Linked DNA regions of Homo sapiens: regions 1, 2, 3, 4 and 6 are each linked to region 5. Evidence: promoter capture Hi-C in 16 types of primary human blood cells and fetal thymus (Javierre and others, 2016). All regions are on one chromosome and are shown on one strand. Each heading gives the region's core, a stretch centred on a gene start or on the middle of the fragment in contact. The rest is flanking DNA. Distances are from core to core; before and after follow the strand shown.

Region 1 (3,161 bases), core at 279-2,778, 470 kb before region 5:
ACTCCTAAAGGATATCTTCAAAGCTTTATTTTTGCTGATTATTTTGTAGAATCAGAGATCTGAGAACCAAAAGGAACCCTTAAGATTGGGCCTTCCTTCCTTCCAAGGAGAGTCCTGGACCCTTTCATAGATAAGGAACAAATGTGGAGAAGGCTAGATGGCATACACAATTTTGAAGATCAAGAAGTCCACCAAAGAAGTTTTGATTAAACCAACCTAAATGTATGGTCCGCACTTTATCTGTCCTTCATTTGGTTTGTTTTAGGGGTTAATGGTCATGTGAAGTATAGTAGCCTCCAACATGGCCCCCAAGATCCTCACTTCCTGGTATTCATGCCCTTGTATAGTTAACTTCCATATTGAATTGGAGCTGATGGGTGTGGCTAATAAAGAATGGCAGAGTGACAATGGGTGACTTCTGAGGCTAGATCATAAAAGGTATTGCTGTTTTCACCTTAGGCTCTTGGATTGCTTATTCTGTAGGAATCCAGCTGCTATGTCACGAGAACTCAAGCCACCCTGTGGAGAATTCCACACGGAGTGCAGCTGAGGCCTCCCAACAACAACCAGCAGCAATTTGCAAACCATGTGAGTGAACTCCTGATGCAGAACTGCCTAGCTCCCAAAGTCTGGACCCAGGCACTGTCTTGGGTGCCAAGGACACAAAGATACATCAGCCATTGTCTGTCCTCCTGGAGTTCATACTTATTAGCCTGGACCTTCAGCTTCTCTCTGCTCCAGGCAGTGAGTGATTCGGACTCAGTTTTATCTACTGCCTGAGCTCGTCCTGGCCAAGTAGAAACAGAAGCCGGGCAGCAGGTCCAAAGACAAAACCATGCCTTAGGGACTGTCTGGTGAGGACACTACTGACATGCAACTCCAAGTGGATCATTGCTACAGGAGTCACCTGAACTGCTGGCCCTGCTGCTCCTGGAAGCTAGATGTGACTTCTGTTGTCTCCGCTACTGCCAGAGTGATTTCTCATTTTTGTGTGACTCACTCCAGCTTCCTAGTCCTAGCTGAGATCTCTAGTCGGCTGATCTCAAGTCACATGTCCATGTCCTGGCTGCCAAGAAGGCGGGAGAAAAGAAAATCTGACCTTTGGTGTGGGGAGGTGGACTCTGTCCCCCCAGCAAGACTCACATGGTGGGAATTCTATAGTAGAGTGAGAGGGGTCAAAAAACTAACATCTACTGCATTAATTATATTAGAACATGAATTTAAACTTTATTAATCATAATGGTATCTACATAGAAGTGAAAAATAGAGGTACATATATAGTCAGAAGTAGTGTTATCTGGTCCATGTTTGGCAAGGGTTAGGAAACGTTTTTGGAAAAGGGCCACATAGGCAATATTTTAGGCTTTTCAAGCCATATGCTCTGTTGTAACTATTCAACTCTGCCCTTGTAGCACAAAAGCAGCTGATAGTCTGTAAACAAATAAGCATGATTGCACTCCAAGAAAACTTTATGGACACAAATTTGAATTTCATATAATTTTCATGTGTCATGAATTAATATTTTCCTTTTTAATTTTTTCAACCGTTTAAAAATATAAAAACCATCTTAGCTTGTGGGTTGTACAAAATTCCAGCATTGGGCTGGATTTGGCCTGTGTGCCATTAGCAAACTCCTGATTTACAAGAATGATTATCCTTTCTGAAAAGTCAGACCAATTGGAAAATCAGATAAAAGATGTGGAATGGGCCCTCTCCCTAGGGAGAAAAAGGCACTCACATGAAACTGCATGTGACTCCAGGACATTCACAGACTTGCTAAGGAGCCAGTGGACCCCGGGTTAATAACTCTGCTTTACAAGTAATGCTAGCTGAGCACTGGGCTCCCCCCTCCTTTAATAACCCCCCAGAGCCCTGAGGGTTCACAACTTTGGGAGTATAGGGGCAGAAGGTGTGATACCTTTCCTCACCCATCATAAAGGTCATGGCCAACACCCCCGTGACAAAAGACAGGGTAACAAGAGAAAAGCATAACAAATGTGGTCAATCCAAGTTTTATGTGACACAGCAGGCTTCAGATAGGAAGAATCCAAAGACCCAGGGAAAACTGTCTTATTTTTCTGCTTAGGTTTGACGAAGAGTGGACAATTGTGTAGAAATGTGATTGGACAAAAAGTGCGATCTAATGGTAATGGACTAAGTGGGGAAACCCAGCAAGGACTATCTCTTCAGATTCTTCTTGGCCTTTCTGTGTAGCATTCCTTCCTCCTGGGTATGGGGCAGTCTTATGACCTACTGTTAGATAAGGCAGGTCAGAGAATTTCTTTATGGCCAGCTCATGCACAGAAAGGCGGGGGAAAGTTAGAGTAATATTTCTAGGTTTTGTGGTTTGCTTTTTGTTGTTGTTACTGTTTTTGTTTTTGAGATGGTCTTGCTCTGTTGCCCAGGCTGGAGTGCAGTGGCACAATCATGGCTCACTGCAGCCTCAACCTCTCAGGCTCAAGTGATCCTCCCACCCCAACTTCCCAAGTAGCTGGGACCACAGGTGCATACCACCATGCCCAGCTAAATTTTTTTTTGTATTTTTTTGTAGAGATGGGACTTTGCCATGTTTCCCAGACTGGTATGGCTTGCTTTGAAAAGAGGTTCTGGTTTCTATTTCCTCCCTTGGGGAAGACAGATTCTGTTTTCTATGACTCCCTTTGGAGGAGGAAGGGGCAGGAGACAGCAGGGCAGGATATGGTCAGAGAGAGTCTTTGCTTTTGAGGCTGCTTCTGAGGCTTTCTATTCTTCTTTAATTCACAGCACACCAAGGAGCCATATTTTGGGTTATTGCTTTCTGAGCCCCAGTAGGAGCCACTACCTTCTTGTTTTTGCTTTTGAGACAGGGTCGCTCTCTGTCGCCCCTGCTGGAGTGAAAAGGCACCATCAGGGCTCACTGCAGCCTCAAACTACTGGGCTCAAGCAATTGTCCCACCTCAGCCTCCCAAGAAGCTGGGACTACAGATGAGAGCTACCACGCTCAACTAATTATTTATCCACTGCTTTCTTAGACCGTTACAAATAAGAAGCTTATGGCCGGGCGTGGTGGCTTAGGTTGGGTGCAGCGGCTCACGCCTGTAATCCAAGCACTCTGGGAGCCGAGGCGGGTGGATCACGAGGTCAGGAGTTCAAGACCAGCCTGGCCAAGATGGTGAAACCCC
Region 2 (3,302 bases), core at 687-3,186, 400 kb before region 5:
GCTTTCTATGCAATCTCATTTTTACTTAGCCATGTTTGTGTACATTATTCTGCTAAAAAGTTTTAAAATAATGAAAAGGAAAAGACCCCTACTGATGGAGCAAGTTTGGAAATCCTAGCAGTTGTAGAAAGTCACAGGAATAGAAGTAAGGGACCTGAGGTCCTGGGCTGTGTGACTGAACTGCTTTGTGACCTTGGGCAAGCTGCTGTGAGTGTTTCCTTAGTTATGAGATGGGAGGGGAGATGATCTTCCTCTCCCCTGTGGTTTGACCCTGCAGTTCCACGAGAAGCAGCTGTTGGCAGCTGTGGGGGCAGAACTGTCCTCCCAGTCCCCACGTGCCCTGGAAAGGCTCGGGTCTGATGCCTGGCCCATGGATAGTCCTGACCCCCAGCCCCAGCTTGGTCAGATCATTCCTGGGCTGGAGAGGAAGAGAGATTTTGACCAAATTAGTTTGCTTCTTACTGGCCTCTGGGATCCATGGGAAAACTCCTCTCAGAACAGAGATTGACTGCTGAAGAGTGAATGGGCGAGTTTCCAGCACAGCGTCTGTGCCATGCTCCCGAGCTGAGTTTAGTTTGTGTCAAAGCGCCTACTGTGTACTTTGTGGGGGATTGGCAGGTAGAAAATTTCACAAAACAGCCCTGCCCTCCAAGAGCACAGGAGAGTCAATATATAGAATATTTCCTTTAGGAAAGAGAAGATTTGCGAGGAAGCTGCCTTCTTCCAATATTTGGTGGTTCTTCCGTGGATGGGCACTGCATCTTGTTCATCTTTGTGTTCCCGGTGCTTGCTCTCAAGACTCATTATTCATTTAATCCTCATCCAGCACAAACGCACAACAGTGAACAAGCAGCACTGTCCCTTCCTTTCAGGAGACTACAGCCCACGGTGAGATTCCGGGAAGTAGACAGAACAGTGCAGGGCAGGACGAGCTGCAAGGGGGAGGATGCCAAGCTGTGCACACGGAAAGCACCTACTGTTACGGCCATGGCAACCTCAGCTGCTCCTGCCTGGGCTTCCTGGGGATTCCCCTGGGTCTCCTCCGGGCATAGGTCCACCCTGCAGAGACCCAGGGAGCCAGAGAGCCTGGCATATGTGGGGACCCTTCTCTGTGTATAGAGGAGGCTTGCCAGCCAGGCCCAGCCTCTGGCAGGAGAGACCCTGCAGAGTCCCCAGCCTGCAGGAACAGTGTGGTGGCAGGCAGCCTGAGGGAGACAGTCCATCCTTTGGCTCTCCTGGGCCCTAATATATTGAGACACAACCTGGCTTCTCCCTCTGTCCCAGAGGGAAAGCCTGGACCTGCCACCTCTCAAGGCAGGAATGTGCTTGTGTGGCCAGCCCACATCCATGTGGGAGCCCATGACTGCTCTGTGGGCCTGTTTCCCTGAGGACGGAGGTGATTTTCTGGGGTACTGAGGGGCAGGGAAGGGCAGCCTGCACCCATGGGTAAGAATGTCTGCTCTGACTCATGACACTCACTGTCTGACTGCTTCATCCTTCATCAATCAGAAACCACTTCCTAAGCACCAAGGATATGTCAGGCTCTGTGCTGTGTTCTCCCAATTCTCAAATTCCTTTTTCTTAACTGACTGTGAGATAAGTGTATTACTTTCATTTCACAGGTGGGAAAACTGAAGCCCAGAGCACCAAGGATAAAATCCTATTTGTTGGTGTTTACCATGTGCTGGATGCCATTGTGGGCACTTGTGTGGATCAGTGCATGAAATCATCATAGCTTATGAGGCGGTTTTCATTCCTGTCTCACTGATGATGAAACTCGCCCAGGGTCTCACAGCCACCTTGTAACAGAACTGGACTGGAGTTATCTTGGAGTCCTTTCCAGAGACCTCCGTGCCCTCAGAGCACTGCTGGTTAACCTCTGCCCCTCTTTGACTCCAGTGTGGGCCATGTGGGTGAGGACAAGGGCAATTAGAGGCAGTTAGTGTGGGAGACTTGATGGGTGGGTTTTCTAGAGGAAAGAGACCATTTTAGAGGCTAGGGTCCATTTTAAATTGCAGCAAAGGCCGGGCATGGTGGCTCACACCTGTAATCCCAGCACTTTGGAAAGCCAAGGTGGGCAGATCACCTGAAGTCAGGAGTTCGAGACCAGACTGGCCAACATTGTGAAACCGCATGTCTACTAAAAATACAAAAATTAGTTAGGCATGGTGGCGGGCACATGTAGTCCCAGCTACTTGGGAGGCTGAGGCAGCAGGAGAATTGCTTGAACCTGGGAGGTGGAGGTTGCAGTGAGCCAAGATCGTGCCACTGCACTCCAGCCTGGGTGACAGAGCGAGAATCTGTCTCAGAAATAAAATAAAATAAATTGCAGCTGGGGTAGACAAAGGACAAATAAATCATGTTGGATTTGACACATACCTTTCCTGCGCCCTGACAATTAGGCTTGAAGGAAACCTGTCAGGCAGTGCCAAAGCCTGTAATGGCTTAGAGCAGAGTTGGAGGAGTGGGGCAGGAGTGGCAACCCTGAAGGCACCTGGGAGTTGCTAATTGGGGGTGGTGATGACAGAGGAGATGGCACAGTTGCACTCTGAGCCGCTTGCCTGACAGAGGCTCTGGTGTCTGCTGGGGAGTAGGGCTGGATGGGAGAGGTGTAGAGGAAGATGTGCTTCTAAGAGGACTTGGACCTGTTCCTTCTGTCCCCACCCAGCCCTCCAGGCTTGTGGGCAGAAAGGCTGGGTGTGGACCTAAAGCCAAATCTTTTGAGGGTGGGGATGAGGGAATAGGCCACCTGCAAGCGTGGGGGCAGAGGGGGATGGGGGTGGCACCATTTCATTCCTGTGATAAATGCTTTTTGCTCTACAATGAACTTGGCCATTAGGATCGGCTGTACATGATTGCCTGAGTAGTCCTCCCTTGGGCAAAGCCTTTCACACTTTGGGACTCCCTTTAGCCGTCTGTGAAATGGGCTAAGCTCCGTTTTGGAAGTCGTGCTCTGCTGCCCACTGTATTTCTCCATGCTCGTGTCCTGGAGTGAACGCTGCAGTGATGGCAGCACAGAACCACTTATGATTCCTCTTGCTCATGCATGTTAAGAATTTGAGGCAACCTATGATGAGAGGCACATAGAAAGCAAACATAAAAGTGGAAGATCAAAAGCCAGATGCCCTCCAGAAGAGTATGATTTAGCAAATGTGTAATAAGGCCCGGGTGTCTCATTTATTTTTATTTATTTTTAATATTTTTGTGTTTAGAGCCAGGGTCTTGCTCTGTTGTCAGGCTGGAGTTCAGTGGCACCATCATAGCTCACTGCAGTCTCTTGTTCCTAAGCTGAAATGATCCTC
Region 3 (3,379 bases), core at 188-2,687, 290 kb after region 5:
TATGACATGGTATAACATATAAAATATTACATATTTTACACAGTGACAGTACCCGCCTCTTCTAAACACTAAAATTTAATAGAATGAAGTAAAAAGCCTATTAAATAAGAAACAAACACTGCAATCATAAACAAAATGCACTAAGCAAAATACTTTAAAATTGTTGTGTGTGACATCTATCTTGTCTACCTGGAGTTAGGAATGGTGGAGCCCAGAAAAAAACTGAGCTAACAAAAACAGCCAACACCCTCCAGGAACTCTTCCCTGGAATCAGGCCGCTGGTGCCCGTCACAGGCTGCCCCCATCTGATGACCCAGCCAGGCTTCAGGGCTGCCTGAGGGCCCACACTGAATGCTAACGCCTGTCTGGGGCTGGGCTGAGGTGAATGGGAGGAGTACCAGGTAGGAAGAAGCTTCTCTCCCAACTGCTTATTCTGCATCCATGCTATGGATATGAACACCTAGTGTTTCTGGTGTGAATCTGCCACTCTCCACAAACATTGAAATGTGATTGAGAAGAAAATGTTAACGCTGGGAACAAAAGCCATTTTCTACGCAGTCTGCAGATATCATCATTAATTCCTTTCATCCATGTTTTCATTAAGATGCTCTAAAAGAGGCTGCTGCTATTATACAGCCAGTCAGGCAAGCCAGGATAGAGGTAACAAAATTTCTCCAGTTATAACTAGTAATTCAAATGAATCAAAAATAAATATAGCTTATACTAGAGAGCAACACAGTCTCTATTATTCACATGGTAATATATTCAAGAATTGCAACAATATTCACAATTCTCTAAGGTCAACATATTTCCCTCCAAGCAGAAAATCCTGAATGGAAGGGAGTGTATAACATCAATAACTCCTGTTTGTCTCACATAATATCAGGGCTCAGAAAGCTCATTATAGATAACAAATGCAAAATAAAAAAAAAAAAGCATTTCAATATATGTACAGCAACAGAGGAAGACTAGGCCCTCCCTCTGGGCCTCCTTGGCATAAGGCAAAGCATGGCTATTTGCGACAACAGTGTCTAAGCTGACTCTGGAAAGGCTCATGTTTTACGATAAATCAGAATTACAAAGTTCCTTCATTCACAGGTAACAAAGGATTATTAAATAATTTCCTGAACTAAGACAACAGTCTCACCATCAAAGAAAATTTTCTTCTCATCTGAGTTTTTATAAATGAGATTTTACAATACCCAGCTTTTTTAGTTAATATGAAACCATCGGCGTACAGAGAACATCCTCAAAGCTCAAGATGAGTAAAGCTAATATTCTCAGACTTTCCACACTCTACAGAGCAGCAAATATTTTATCAGAATATCCATTTAACACAGTTTTAAGTCCATAATAACCAACTATGTATTTTTCTTATTCAAAGAAGACCATGTTTTGATAAGAATAATCCCAGTTTGATGAGTATCCTATTCCCCTTGATGTTGTACAATAAATGTCACTGTTGAGTCTCTATATCCTTGACTCTTCCAGTCAAAGGAAAATCCTGTATAAAGCTGGAAAACTGCAAACTCCAGCGGAAGCACTAGTGTTAGTGCTGAAGTAAACTTTAGGGGAATAACCACAGTCGCTTATCAGACTGTTTACAGCATTGATAGAAGCCCTCCTCTTCTTTTATCTCTATTATCTCTATTTTATCTCTAAACATTCTAATATTTTAAACATGGGGGTTCACTGATATCGATAAAGGTCTAGTTCATGAGTAAGGTTTTGGTCTCTGGAATGATGTGTGGCTAGCCCAAAACACTGGCTATGTTAGCTTTAAACATGATCATTCTTCTTCCCACCACAATCTGTCAAACCCGCCCATCCGTCCTGCCACTGTCACTCCCCCAGCCCCTCAGGATTGCTGCTCCTCTCTTCTGAATGTTCTACTGCATGTATGGTATTCACTGAGACATCACTTTAATGTATAGGTCATTTGCATTTCATGCCACCAGCTCCCCAAAAGACATCAACTGGGAACAATTTCTAATAGTAAAGGCACGATTTGCCAGAATTTTCCCTTTATAAAGGAAATCAAAGGACCTGTCTGGAAGCTGAAAGAACACCTTGGGTATTCCTGTAAAGGGAACGCTGTATCTGCTACCAAAACCCAGAGACACTGACTAGATCTAAAGAGCATATGGATTATGCAATAGTGTGAGATTTGGCAGTTTAAGATCTATTTCCAATATTACATTAAGCCATTTGGGTGAAAGTGTTGTTAGTATCACAGGAGCAAATGAAAAGTGTCAATGACACCCTTTTGGCTCATTTCCTTGTGCTTCTGGTTATACTTCCACCAGCTCCAGTGAAGCCTGTCCCAGGGCACATCACTCAGCTCCCCGCACAGCTGCTCAGAGAGAAAACAATGCACTTCACCTCAACTAGTCCAGCAACTGGCACTCAGATGGTGAACGCTGCAGCCAACGGCCTTGGGGCAGAGCCCATGGAAAGCTTTAAACAGGCTTATAGACATTGCATAAAAATTCCTGATTTTAAAATACCTTCCCAAGGAAGTCACAAAACAATCATTTTTAGTTAATAAAATGTAATCTATACTCAAAAACAATGTAATGCCTCAGAAAGCAAAACCTGGAATGGAAGCACTTCAGAAAAATACGGCTTAATCAGTATCTTACTTTGGCTAAGTTACCACAGTCAGCGTAATTTATTATTGCATTTAGAAGCCCAACCTACCGTGTTCTCCTAAGATGGTGAAGTACACGCAAACAGTGAGCAGGGGTGATAGCCCTTTAGCCTTTTGTGACTTCAGAACTTAGGAAGATAAAAGATAACCAGGATTTGACATTCAGATACTTACTTGCTCAGCACGAGTTGAGTTAGGAGACAGCTAAAGACCAGATTCTCATCCACTTAAGGTGTTCTCAGGAAGCTCCTATTTGGATACCAAACCAGTGGGTCTCAACATGGCTGCACATCAGAATCACCTGGGAAGCTTTTAAAACTCACCACGTGCCCAGGCCAATTAGCTCTGGAAGGTGGAGCCCAGAATCAGTCGGCTTTACACTGTCCCAGGTGATTCTCGTGCAGCCAGGACGCACACCACTGAGCACCCCTTTCGGAGAGCAGTTGTGTGAAAGCCAAGTGAATGGAACGCATATCTGCATAGTTTTATTTCTTTCTCAATTCCACCAGAAAAAGGGATTTTCAGAAAAAGGCACAGTTGTGCTTCCTCTAAAGATGTAGTCTGCGGTTTGGGAAGTGCTGGTTCCCTGAGGTTATCTGGAGCGCTGGTTGTAAAGAAGAAAGTTCTTGTCTTGGCAGAGCAGGCAGAGTTTCAGGCTTCGGCAGCTGCCTCCCGCAGCTAAGAATGCCCAGGTGCCCATGAGCACCAGGATTATAAATGCTGACGCCA
Region 4 (3,390 bases), core at 346-2,845, 380 kb after region 5:
TTTTAAACACTGGAAATTTCTACATTTTACACGTTGGTATAGCAAACGAAACCACTTTTTTTTTTCCCCTGAGACAGAGTCTCGCTCTGTCACCCAGGCTGGAGTGCAGTGGCACAATCTTGGCTCACCACAACCTCCACCTCCCAGGTTCAAGCAATTCTCCTGCCTCAGCCTCCCGAGTAGCTGGGATTACAGACACATGCCACAACGCCCAGCTAATTTTTGTATTTTTATTAGAGTAGGGGTTTCACCATGTTGCCCAGGCTGGTCTCGAACTCCTGACCTCGTGATCTGCCCGCCTCTGCCTCCCAAAGTGCTGGGATTACAGGCGTGAGCCACCGCGCCTGGCCTGGAAACCACTTTTGTTTTGTTCTTGAGAGCAGATATAAGCGATGGAAATAAATGGAAAATGTAGAAAATTATTTGGAAGACAGAATTTACTCATTTTAAGTTTCAACACTCATATAAACAAAAGCAGTTGGAAAGAACTCATGTAGGAATTCCCCATAACCAGAAGGAAGATTGTTTTGTTTTGGGTTTTTTTTTAAGTGTCCATATTACAACTTAAATTTACAACTTAAGCTTTTATCATTATTTTAAAAATGAAAGTGGTATCATCTATAGTCATAAATGCACAGCCTACTGAATTTAAAAGAGGAGCACATTCCAGTTTTAGGCATAAGTACAGTAACTAAATAGACTTGAACAAGAAATTCTTTATCCAGTACAGATTTTCTGAGCATTTGGCACTATACAGAAAACCATGATTTACTAAGCACCAATCAACTGACCTAAGTTACATTATAACAGCACCCCTAGCCTATCCTCTGCTTTGCCCCACGTCCCCCTCCAAACATATCCACCTGAAATAGTACCTAGAAGACATTTGTCCTTATCAGATTTTATTTGAAGGAAGAAGTCAGAAAGGAATTATCTAGTAATAACTTAGTTACAATTTCAGGTACCAGCAGAGAAGCCAAAAAATGAAAATTAATCTGTGTACAAGCTGAAATTGTCCCTAGTTCTGAAAAGAGAATAGTCAGAACCTAGAGAGTTCCTTTTTGATTCCAAAGAGGGAAGGAAGGGAGGAAAGAAGGGAGGAAGAGAGGGAGGGAGGGAAGACTTAGACACTAAAACATGCTTTAGGCCTCTGCCAAAGCCTTATAAAAAACTAAGACAAACCTCATAGTTAACTACTGACAGTGGCATGTGCTTTTAATTCTATTCTGAAAATGTGCATGCAAGCAAGGCAAAATTATATCATGGTTCTCATTTACATTTATCATTGCCTCACTATGGGAATATATAATCACATACGGACATCTGTGGATGATTATATACAAAGACGGGCCTTTCAAGATCAAGTTTAAGAGTTCTAGTGTCTTTCTATTCATACACCAATCATGAAGCAATTCACTAGAGCTGTTTTAGGGAATACGGAAATATTTGGGGAAGTCCAGAGGCTGTCTCCTCATCACGTACAAAAATTTTGTAATAATTTCCTTCACCTCCCCCTCTTCCCACAGTAAAGCTCAGCAGTGACATTTCCTTTCCCCTATCTAGTTATATGAATCACTTTTTACTTTACTACATTTTTAGGGATTCTGTGTTTTTACCTTGAATCAAAAGTGATGCCAAATTATCACTAATACATCTTGACTCTTCTGATCCCCAATCAGAATTTCCCCTCCCCTAATTGAAAGTGACATTTTCTAGTACAAAAATTTTCACGCAAAATGAGGTTAGACTAGAATAAATATGAGTCAGATGAACATGAACTGAAACAGAAAAATGTGCTGGTGCAATCCCTCCCTTAACAACTTTATCTCACAACCCCGGATGTTTAAAAATGATAAACATGGTGACCTATCCAAGAACAACCTGGATATCAAGTTTTCGTTGTTTGTTTTTTGCTGCGAACTAGTTCAGCATGCTCTGCTTGTTATACATCAAGGATGCCTCTACATCAATTCAGGAGGAAAGACTACAACGCACTGTGTAGGAAGATGGGGCTTTTAGGCCAGGCACTGTGGCTCATGACTGTAATCCCAGCGCTTTGGGATGCTGAGGCAGGAGGACTGCTTGAGCCCAGGAGTTCAAGACCAGCCCAGGCAACATAGAGAGACTCCCTCTCTTAAAAAATTAAATAAAATGAGCTGGGCATGGTGGGACACACCTGTAGTCCCAGCTACTTGGGAAGCTGAGGTGGGAGAATCACCTGAGCCTGGGAAGTTGAGGCTGCAGTGAGCCATGATTGCGCCACTGCACTCCAGCCTAAATGACAGAGTGAAATCCTGTCTCTAAAAAAAAGAAAAAAACACAGGGCTCTTCATGTTGTTGAATGATCAACTAGGGGCAACTCCCCTTCAGCCATGACAGTTATGAGATGTCTATCAATATCTATCATGACCAGTCACTAGTTGCAATTGACTAGTGTCAGTCAATATATGACAATACTAAGAAAAATGCGGTGCTTGGCAAAAAAAATCCACCAAAACTATGACTGGATTTAACTGGAAGTTAATTTTGAACTCTACCACACTACCTGTACTTTTAAGAAGATACATTTAAAGAAAGTAAATACTAAACACAGTATCAGGAAGCTTTATAAAGGAAATATCAAACTATGGCTCTCTCTAAAGTCTTGCGTAAACATTCTTTCCTATTCTAATGGCCATCAAAGTTAAGGATATAATAGGGTTAAACCAGAATCTCAATGAGAGAGATGGTGAACACATATAGTCTGGGGTAGAACACAGTTATAATATCACAGTACGTGAGACAATAATCTCCCAACCTCCCAACTCAGAAAGGGACAAGAATTCACTCAATCTGGCTGTAGTTTCAGGAACATCTGTGAAGCATTTCCCAGTATTCTCAGTAATTTCTATACTTCCGATCTACAAAGGATATTCTACTATTTGTTCTCTTGTCAATAAAGAAAAGTTAGGCCAAAAGAGATTTTAACACAAAACACTTAAGCTAATAAAAGCAGAGCTGGTCTTTCACTTTTATTTGGGTTTTTGCAGATAAGACGCACATCTCAAACCAACCATAGGATCCTTCCCCAAATTCTTTCCCTGCTGTTTATCTTTTGATATTGCAAGAGCTCTGATGGGTCCCTTGTGTAGTGGTATCTTTTGGCAAAAGTGGTTTCCTCAGGTTGAGTTGAGCTCTGGCTCTTCAAAGTTAATTAGAACCACACCACACAGTATCTCGAGTATGCTGATAGAAAATGCCTGTGGTGTGATGTTAACGAGAGACAATTAAATTTCTCTTTGTTCTCTTCAGAAGACAATTACATTTCTCATCTTTTATTTGCATACCAGCCACTCAATAAAAACCAGCCTACAGCCTAGTAAAAAAAAGGCCAAGAATGGGCCTTGCCCA
Region 5 (3,292 bases), core at 165-2,664:
TCGGGGCCCAACCCCAAGTCCATCTTCTGTTTTCTTCCTACCAGCTCAAAAGAAAGGTGGGGTCACTACGCTGTTTCCTTCCACTCCTGTCGTGCTGCCAGCAAATAGCAGCTATGAACTTGGGTGGCAGTAAACTGGCTGAGTCTAGTTTTCCATGAACAGCCAGGGCCAGTTTGTTATATGATCAAGGGGGTGTTTTTCCTCAAAGGCAGCACGGGACTGGCAGAAGCTCAGTGAGAGGCTGGTTGAATAGCTCTGTGTTCTTGCCTGGGCCGCTCTGCCCATGAGGCTGGGACCATGGAGGGAGCCTGGCCTGGTGGTTCAGTGTCTATGTCTGTGTCTGGGGTGGGGGTTAGCAGATAAACACAAGATGTATTTGGGACATACTTACACTAAAATATTATTCACTGTTTATCTGAAATTCATATTTAACTGGGCAGCCTATATATTTGCTAAAATCTGGCAACCCTAGACTGGGCAAATCATACCACCTCGTGGAGCATCAGTTTGCTAATTTGAAAAATTAGGCTAAGCCACCCTCCTTAGGAATACTGTGTAAATCAGTAATTCATCTACTCCTGGAGTCTGGTTTGGCTCAGCTGACCTGAGCACCCTGGCTTCTCCACCTCTGGCTCCCCACCCTCTCTTTCCTCCGTAGTTTCCCAGGCCTTGAGGGCTGCTTGCTAGGCCTAATGGAGGGGTGAGCTGATTGCTGCATCTGGAAGCCTTTTCCCAGAGCCTGACCTTGAAAATCCAGGCCCAGCTGGACCCACCCAGCACTTAATGACTACCAGTACGGAGGCCCCACTTCTTGGTGTTTGCATGAAGCAGCCCAGGACCTGTGAGGCTAAGAGGAGGATTAGCAATTGTTTCCCTCATGATTTTATTGTCTCCTGGGGACCCTGCTTTGGGCGGTCTGGATGTCTGCCTTGGGCCTAGTTTGAGGCGCCCCGAAGGTGGAGCCATCTTGGTCTCGTAATTTGCTCTTCCCTGCCCCCCAAGAGGGAAGCCAGAGCTAGCGGGGCCAGCACTGCTCAGGAGGCAAGGTGGCCTACCTGTCGCACACCCGGAGGAGGAAATCATTGACCAGGCTCTCGTGCCGGCTGCAGATGCTTCTCTGGAAGGCACTCTTGAGCCAGTCCTCAATGCTGCACACCTGCACGCGGCTGGAGTGCCAGCAGATGGAGAGGCTGCGGAGTGCCGGGCCCAGGAGGAAGTTGTCCTTCTGGAGTTCAGTGAGGGAACGGAAGTGCAGCAGGGACCAGAGTGCGGGGTCCTCAAACACGTCGTGGAGCTGGGAGCAGGTCCTGGCAAGGCTCTTCCTGCTGTCCTTGTCTAGGAAGGAGAAGAGGTGCAGCAGGCACTCCCGGTTGAGCTGGGTTATGTGCATGGTGAGCAGTGGCCACATGTGAGTGCAGCTGCAGCCGGGGGACGGCTGACCTGCCTCCTCTCCTCCTCCCCGACTCTGGGCCGGTGGACATATATGGTTGAGGAATGGTGTTTATTTTTGGCTAACAACTGGTGCTGAAGCTCTGCGGAGGGGTGAGGGAAGAAAAGCCAGGACCCAGACACATGTGCGGCAGTCTGTGGTTCGGCTTATGTTCAGAGGGATTGGAGGTCCTGGCAGAAAAGGAGCCTATTGAAGTTACTTTCCTTAAAAGGGATTTTTTTTTTCCCTTTAGCTGACAATGGTGTTTAGCAGTGAGCACTTTTGGCTTTTCCCAAGGCGTTTTCATTGGCAGTGGTGGCGGCCAGGCCAGCTCTGTCTGGCTTTGCAGTCTGTACTTAGGGGGAAGGAGTGTAATTGTAAATGTTAACTGTTTTGATTTTCTAGTACATCAGTGTGAATCTTTTGCTCCACCCTTACTAGGAAGAAACCTGTTGCGTGTGGAGAGCTAAGGGTGACGGTTGTGAGTTGTGAGCAGAGTCCATGGCTGCTGCCTCATTCCTGTTATTTTTGTGCCATAGAGTAATTGTCTCCAGGCTAGGCTGGTTGGCCTTCAAGCCCTGCTGCCTGCCACTAGGCAGGGGGATTTTCCTGGGCCTCCCCAACAGCTAGATTTTTACCCTGAGTTGTTTCATAAAAGAATTTTACTGAAGTAGCTGCTTTCCAAAGTTGTGTGTCTGTGTTTTATGTTTTATTGGTGCTTTGTTGTTGTTGTTGTTGTTTTTGTAGTTTTGGTCAAGCAGTACTTTCTGTGTTTTAAATTTAAATTTACTTGGCTTTACATTTTCTCACTGATAAGGCCTTGTACTATGTATAACCTGTACTTCCCAAAATGTCAGGATGGATGAGGTAGCTCTTAATGTGAAACTGCTTGAAACAATTTTAAGTTCAGTATTTTAGTCCATCTTTGCCTTTAAGTTGACCACACACCATCCATTCTATGAGTGCCCTCCGTTCCCTCTTGGAGAAGCCAGTGGGCCACCCCTGCCCTCTCTGACTCAACTCTAGGCAAGGTGCCTGGAGGTACTATCCGTGAAGCTCCCCCTTCCTGAGTACCCGAGGCTTCACGATATGGCAGACCCGTTTCCTCATGCTGCTTCACTCCCAAACCCAGGACCCAACCTTAACTCTCCTGCTTTGAATCCCAGTCGTTGTTTTTTGGTTTGCTTGGGGGATGCTGATATGGTGCAGCTGTATAGGCCACGTTCTGCCTAGGCAATAGTGAGAAGAGAATGGTTTTTCCTCTGCCAGCCCAGGGACCACCACCTCAGTGGTTACTTCTGTTTGTTCTCCCATTTGGAATAAGAGGGAATGGGAATCCTTGTGTTTTCCCATAGACACAAATGAAGCAGCCTATGCTGAACCCACTTCTGGAACTAAGGTTTGGTCAGGGCTGGTGCAGCTTTGCCTTTAAAGCAGAAGGCAGTCAAGCAAAGAAGGAAGTAGCCATTGTCAGTGGCTTTCCTGAGAAGCCAGCCTCAGCTGGTGCCCCTGTGCCTCCATTACTCCACCATGCCAAGATGAAGTACAGTAGGGGGTTCTCTTAAAAACAAACCAAGGAGGTCGAAAGGAAGCATTTCCCAAGGAAGGGGAGCAAGATACTGCTGCTATTTCAAGCTCATCAATGTAGTTCTGAATTATAGCTGACACCCTAATTTAGGCTCTGTCTAGGTGTACTTCTCCACTTAAAATGGATGCTGCAAAACCACAGGTGGTGTTATTAGAAAGCCACATTATCTCCACTTTCCCTCCCCAATCCTCCTCAAACCAATGCTTTTCAGAGGGTTTGACCCTTAGGAATAGGTGGTTCTTTCCACTTCTTGCAAGGCCAGAGTGGTACTTGTG
Region 6 (3,305 bases), core at 356-2,855, 440 kb after region 5:
GATATGGTAAGAGAGAATGAGATTTGCTGGAATGAATAGAGTATCTTGGAGAAGCAGTGAAAGAGGAGTGCTTTCCTGTTCCAATATAGAGAAAAATCCTTGATTTGTTACCCTGGAGTAGCAGAAACCTGGGTTCTGGCTTCCTGACGGCCCCAGCGGGGAGGTAGGAAGACTCCAGAGAGAATGGCAGTGTGATATATCTAGGCCAGTGCTTCTCACACAGGGATGTGCACAAGGATCACCATTGTTAAAATGCAGATTCTGACTCAGTAGTTCAGGGGTGGCGCCTGAGAGTCTCTATTTCCAAAAAGTTTGTAGGTGGCTGGTCCACAAAGTGGCAAGGATCTACATGGCTAGGACTACAGGCTGTCTCCTTTAAGATTCCCATATCCATTTCAAGCATAGAACAGGAGGAGCCGCAGCCTGTTAAAACTGAATGGTCCCACAGGCAGGGACAAAGGATGTTTCTGCGGTGATTTGGTTTGATTGATGACTGAGGAGCAGATGGACCCCAACTGCAACGCCTTCTAGGCTAAAAGAGGACCACATCCTGACAGGGGATCCTCGTGTCAGGGTCTTGGCAGATCACAGATGGCCACTCAGAAGGGATGACTGAAGAGAGTTTCATGAAGCATCCTCATGAATAACAGATAGATGGCAACTCTACAGTTGGCACTTTGGGGGCCATGGGTGTGGTCCTGTTGGAGAACTGGTAGGCAGAAAAGACACACACTTGCAGAAGTTGCTGCTGATTTCAGGAGTGTGTTGAGAATGAGCCACAAGCACTTTAATAACTGCCAATAGGTGGACAATGGAAGAGAAAAAAGAATGCAGTCTTGTTATAGTTTCCTGATGACACAGATTTCTCGAAGTGTCTCAGAAAAATACTTAGAAAGGGTATGAAAAGTTATCTTTAGGCCGGGCGCGGTGGCTCACGCCTGTAATCCCAACACTTTGGGAGGCCAAGGTGGGTGGACCACCTGAGGTCAGGCGTTCGAGACCAGCCTGGCCAACATGGTGAAACCCCGTCTCTACTAAAAATATAAAAATTAGCTTGGGCGTGGTGGCATATGCCCGTAGTCCCAGCTACTGGGGAGGCTGAGGCAGGAGAATTGCTTGAACCTGGGAGGTGGAGGTTGCAGTGAGCTGAGATCATGTCACTGCACTCCAGCCTGGGCGACGGAGTGAGACTCCATCTCAAAAAAAAAAAAAAAAAGAAAAGTTATCTTCAGTCTGGGCAACATGGCAAAACCCCGTCTCTACAAAATTTTTAAAAAATAAGTCAGGTGTGGTGGTACACATCTATGGTCCCAGCTACTCTGGAGGCTGATGAGATTGCTTGAGCCCAGGATGTGAAGGCGACAGTGAGCTGTTTCACACCACTGCACTCCAGTGTGGGCAACAGAGTGAGACCTTGACTCAGAAAAAGAAAAGTTATCTTTAGGACCTCCACCTCAAACTCTAAATTTTTTTTTTTTTTTTTTTTTTTGAGACGGAGTCTCATTCTGTTGCCCAGGCTGGAGTGCAGTGTCGCGATCTCAGCTCACTGAAACCTCCGCCTCCCGGGTTCAAATGATTCTTCTACCTCAGCCTCCTGAGTAGCTGGGATTACAGGCACACACCTTGATGTCTGGCTAATTTTTGTATTTTTAGTAAAGATGGGGTCTCACCATGTTGGCCAAGCTGGTCTTGAACTCCTGACCTCAAATCATCCATCCGCCTCGGCCTCCCAGAGTGCTGGGATTATAGGCATGAGCCACTGCGCCTGGCCTGAATTTCTTAAAAGCAAAACTAAACTAAACCCTTGATCATCTTTCTGGGAAAAGGGCATAGGCATTGAAAAACTTCAGTCCAGGGGAAAGCTGGGGATCTGATTTATTTAGAGCAGCACTTGGGGCCTGAAATTTAGCACTAGTTGGGTTCCCGGCTTAGCCTGTCCGAACACCTATGTGTTTTATCAGCACTAGAAGTTGGTAAAGGGAGGCTGGGCGCAGTGGCTCACACCTGTAATCCCAGCACTTTGGGAGGCCGAAGTGGGCGGATCACCTGAGGTCAGGAGTTTGAGACCAGCCTGGCCAACATGGTGAAACCTCGTCTCTACTAAAAGTACAAAAATTAGCTGGGCATGATGCGTGCACCTGTAGTCCCAGCTACTTGGGAGGCTGAGGCACAAGAATCACTTGAACCCAGGAGGCAGATGTTTCAGTGAGCCGAGATCGGGACCACTACACTCCAGCCTGGAATTCCATCTAAAAAAAAAAAGAATTTGGTAAAGGGAGATGGGAGTAGAGATGGCCCCCACACCCTTCTGAGGTGAAGGGAGCCAGTGCCAAATGGAAGGTTTCAGTGGCACCTACTTAGACCTGGCCAGCTAGAATGGATGGAAAGTTCTCAGGGCAGTAAATAGGATTTTGACTGGTGCTCTACAGTTCTTTGGAAAGCCAGGTGGGAGCTCCTTCTGCAGGATCCCTGAGAGCAGGGTGCCAAGTGTAAAGGGACTCCAGGGCCCTCCATCTGCCATCAGTGCAGGGGCCTGAAAACATTTTAGGAGAAACTGAGCTTTGGAGGAGGAGGCAGAGTTGTAATTAGAGTCCAGGTCTTCTTGACCTGGAAAATTTTATTTCTCAGGCTGCCTGTGAGTGTCTGAGAGGCTGGAGGATTTTGACACTACACCGGGCATTAGTTAACAAGAACTGAAGCCATAACTAGGCCTAATAATCAGAAATTGTTCTGAGACCTATGATACATGAAGTGCCAAAATAAATTCCAACTTAATTAAAAAGTTAAAGAATAAATATCACAAGAGAATTAGAAGAAAGCAACGGCAAATATTCAGTTAATCCTACAGTGACCAAGTCCTCTCTAAACACAATAGCAAAAGGGAAAAAAGCAATAAATTTGAAATATGTATGTGTGTGTGTGAATATATAACATTAAAAACTTCTGCATGATTAAAACAAATTATCAAAAAATAAAATTAGGCAGGGCACAGTGTGTCACAGTGTAATCCCAGCATTCTGAGAGGCAGAGGCAGGAGGATTGCTTGAGGCTGGGAGTTTGATGCTGCACTCCAGCCTGGGCAATAGAGCAAGACCCTGTTTCAAAAACACAAGAAAACAAAAGTAGAAAAATGCTAATGGCCAATAAGCATATGGAAAATATTAATTACAACAACAATGAAATATGACAAAGTATTAGTTCAAAACAATAGTTCTTCTGGATTGAGATAGGGAAAAACAAAATATCCAGTATTATCAAGGGTGCAAAGAAAGGGACATTCACATACATTTATATCTGGAAAATAA

The links. Contacts are between HindIII fragments. The CHiCAGO score rates a contact against its expected background, and 5 or more counts as called.
Region 1: a contact is called between a fragment that was not itself captured here and the fragment with the promoter of FBXL22 in region 5, in 13 of 17 cell types (naive CD8 T cells, naive CD4 T cells, non-activated CD4 T cells and 10 more). The highest score is 14.8, in naive CD8 T cells.
Region 2: a contact is called between a fragment that was not itself captured here and the fragment with the promoter of FBXL22 in region 5, in 1 of 17 cell types (naive CD8 T cells). The highest score is 5.3, in naive CD8 T cells.
Region 3: a fragment that was not itself captured here is called in contact with the fragment with the promoter of FBXL22 in region 5 in 3 of 17 cell types (M0 macrophages, M1 macrophages and M2 macrophages); the score reaches 7.0 in M0 macrophages.
Region 4: a fragment that was not itself captured here is called in contact with the fragment with the promoter of FBXL22 in region 5 in 1 of 17 cell types (neutrophils); the score reaches 5.4 in neutrophils.
Region 6: a contact is called between a fragment that was not itself captured here and the fragment with the promoter of FBXL22 in region 5, in 1 of 17 cell types (M2 macrophages). The highest score is 5.3, in M2 macrophages.

What each region holds. Positions count from the first base shown.
Region 1 is chr15:64,069,356-64,072,516 of GRCh38, reverse strand. No RefSeq gene overlaps it. Among named protein-coding and RNA genes, the nearest start is that of CIAO2A, 23 kb to the left of the region's middle. The HindIII fragment of the contact is 3,006 bases long and covers 26-3,031 here.
Region 2 is chr15:63,996,351-63,999,652 of GRCh38, reverse strand. The region is part of intron 2 of DAPK2 (death associated protein kinase 2); the gene reads left to right. Among named protein-coding and RNA genes, the nearest start is that of DAPK2, 48 kb to the left of the region's middle. RefSeq lists an enhancer at 1,072-1,573. The HindIII fragment of the contact is 7,981 bases long and covers 1-3,302 here.
Region 3 is chr15:63,305,645-63,309,023 of GRCh38, reverse strand. It overlaps APH1B (aph-1B gamma-secretase subunit), which reads right to left. Exons shown (of 6, transcript NM_031301.4): 6 at 1-3,379. The coding sequence ends at 3,243. Among named protein-coding and RNA genes, the nearest start is that of APH1B, 30 kb to the right of the region's middle. The HindIII fragment of the contact is 2,045 bases long and covers 415-2,459 here.
Region 4 is chr15:63,210,761-63,214,150 of GRCh38, reverse strand. All of the region lies in intron 1 of RAB8B (RAB8B, member RAS oncogene family), which reads right to left. Among named protein-coding and RNA genes, the nearest start is that of RAB8B, 23 kb to the right of the region's middle. RefSeq lists an enhancer at 2,959-3,390. The HindIII fragment of the contact is 2,021 bases long and covers 585-2,605 here.
Region 5 is chr15:63,595,509-63,598,800 of GRCh38, reverse strand. It overlaps FBXL22 (F-box and leucine rich repeat protein 22), which reads right to left and starts at 1,414. Exons shown (of 2, transcript NM_001367807.1): 1 at 1,056-1,414. The coding sequence starts at 1,408. The region is part of intron 1 of USP3-AS1 (USP3 antisense RNA 1); the gene reads left to right. The HindIII fragment of the contact is 9,685 bases long and covers 1-3,292 here.
Region 6 is chr15:63,160,601-63,163,905 of GRCh38, reverse strand. No RefSeq gene overlaps it. Among named protein-coding and RNA genes, the nearest start is that of RPS27L, 4.8 kb to the right of the region's middle. The HindIII fragment of the contact is 3,798 bases long and covers 1-3,305 here.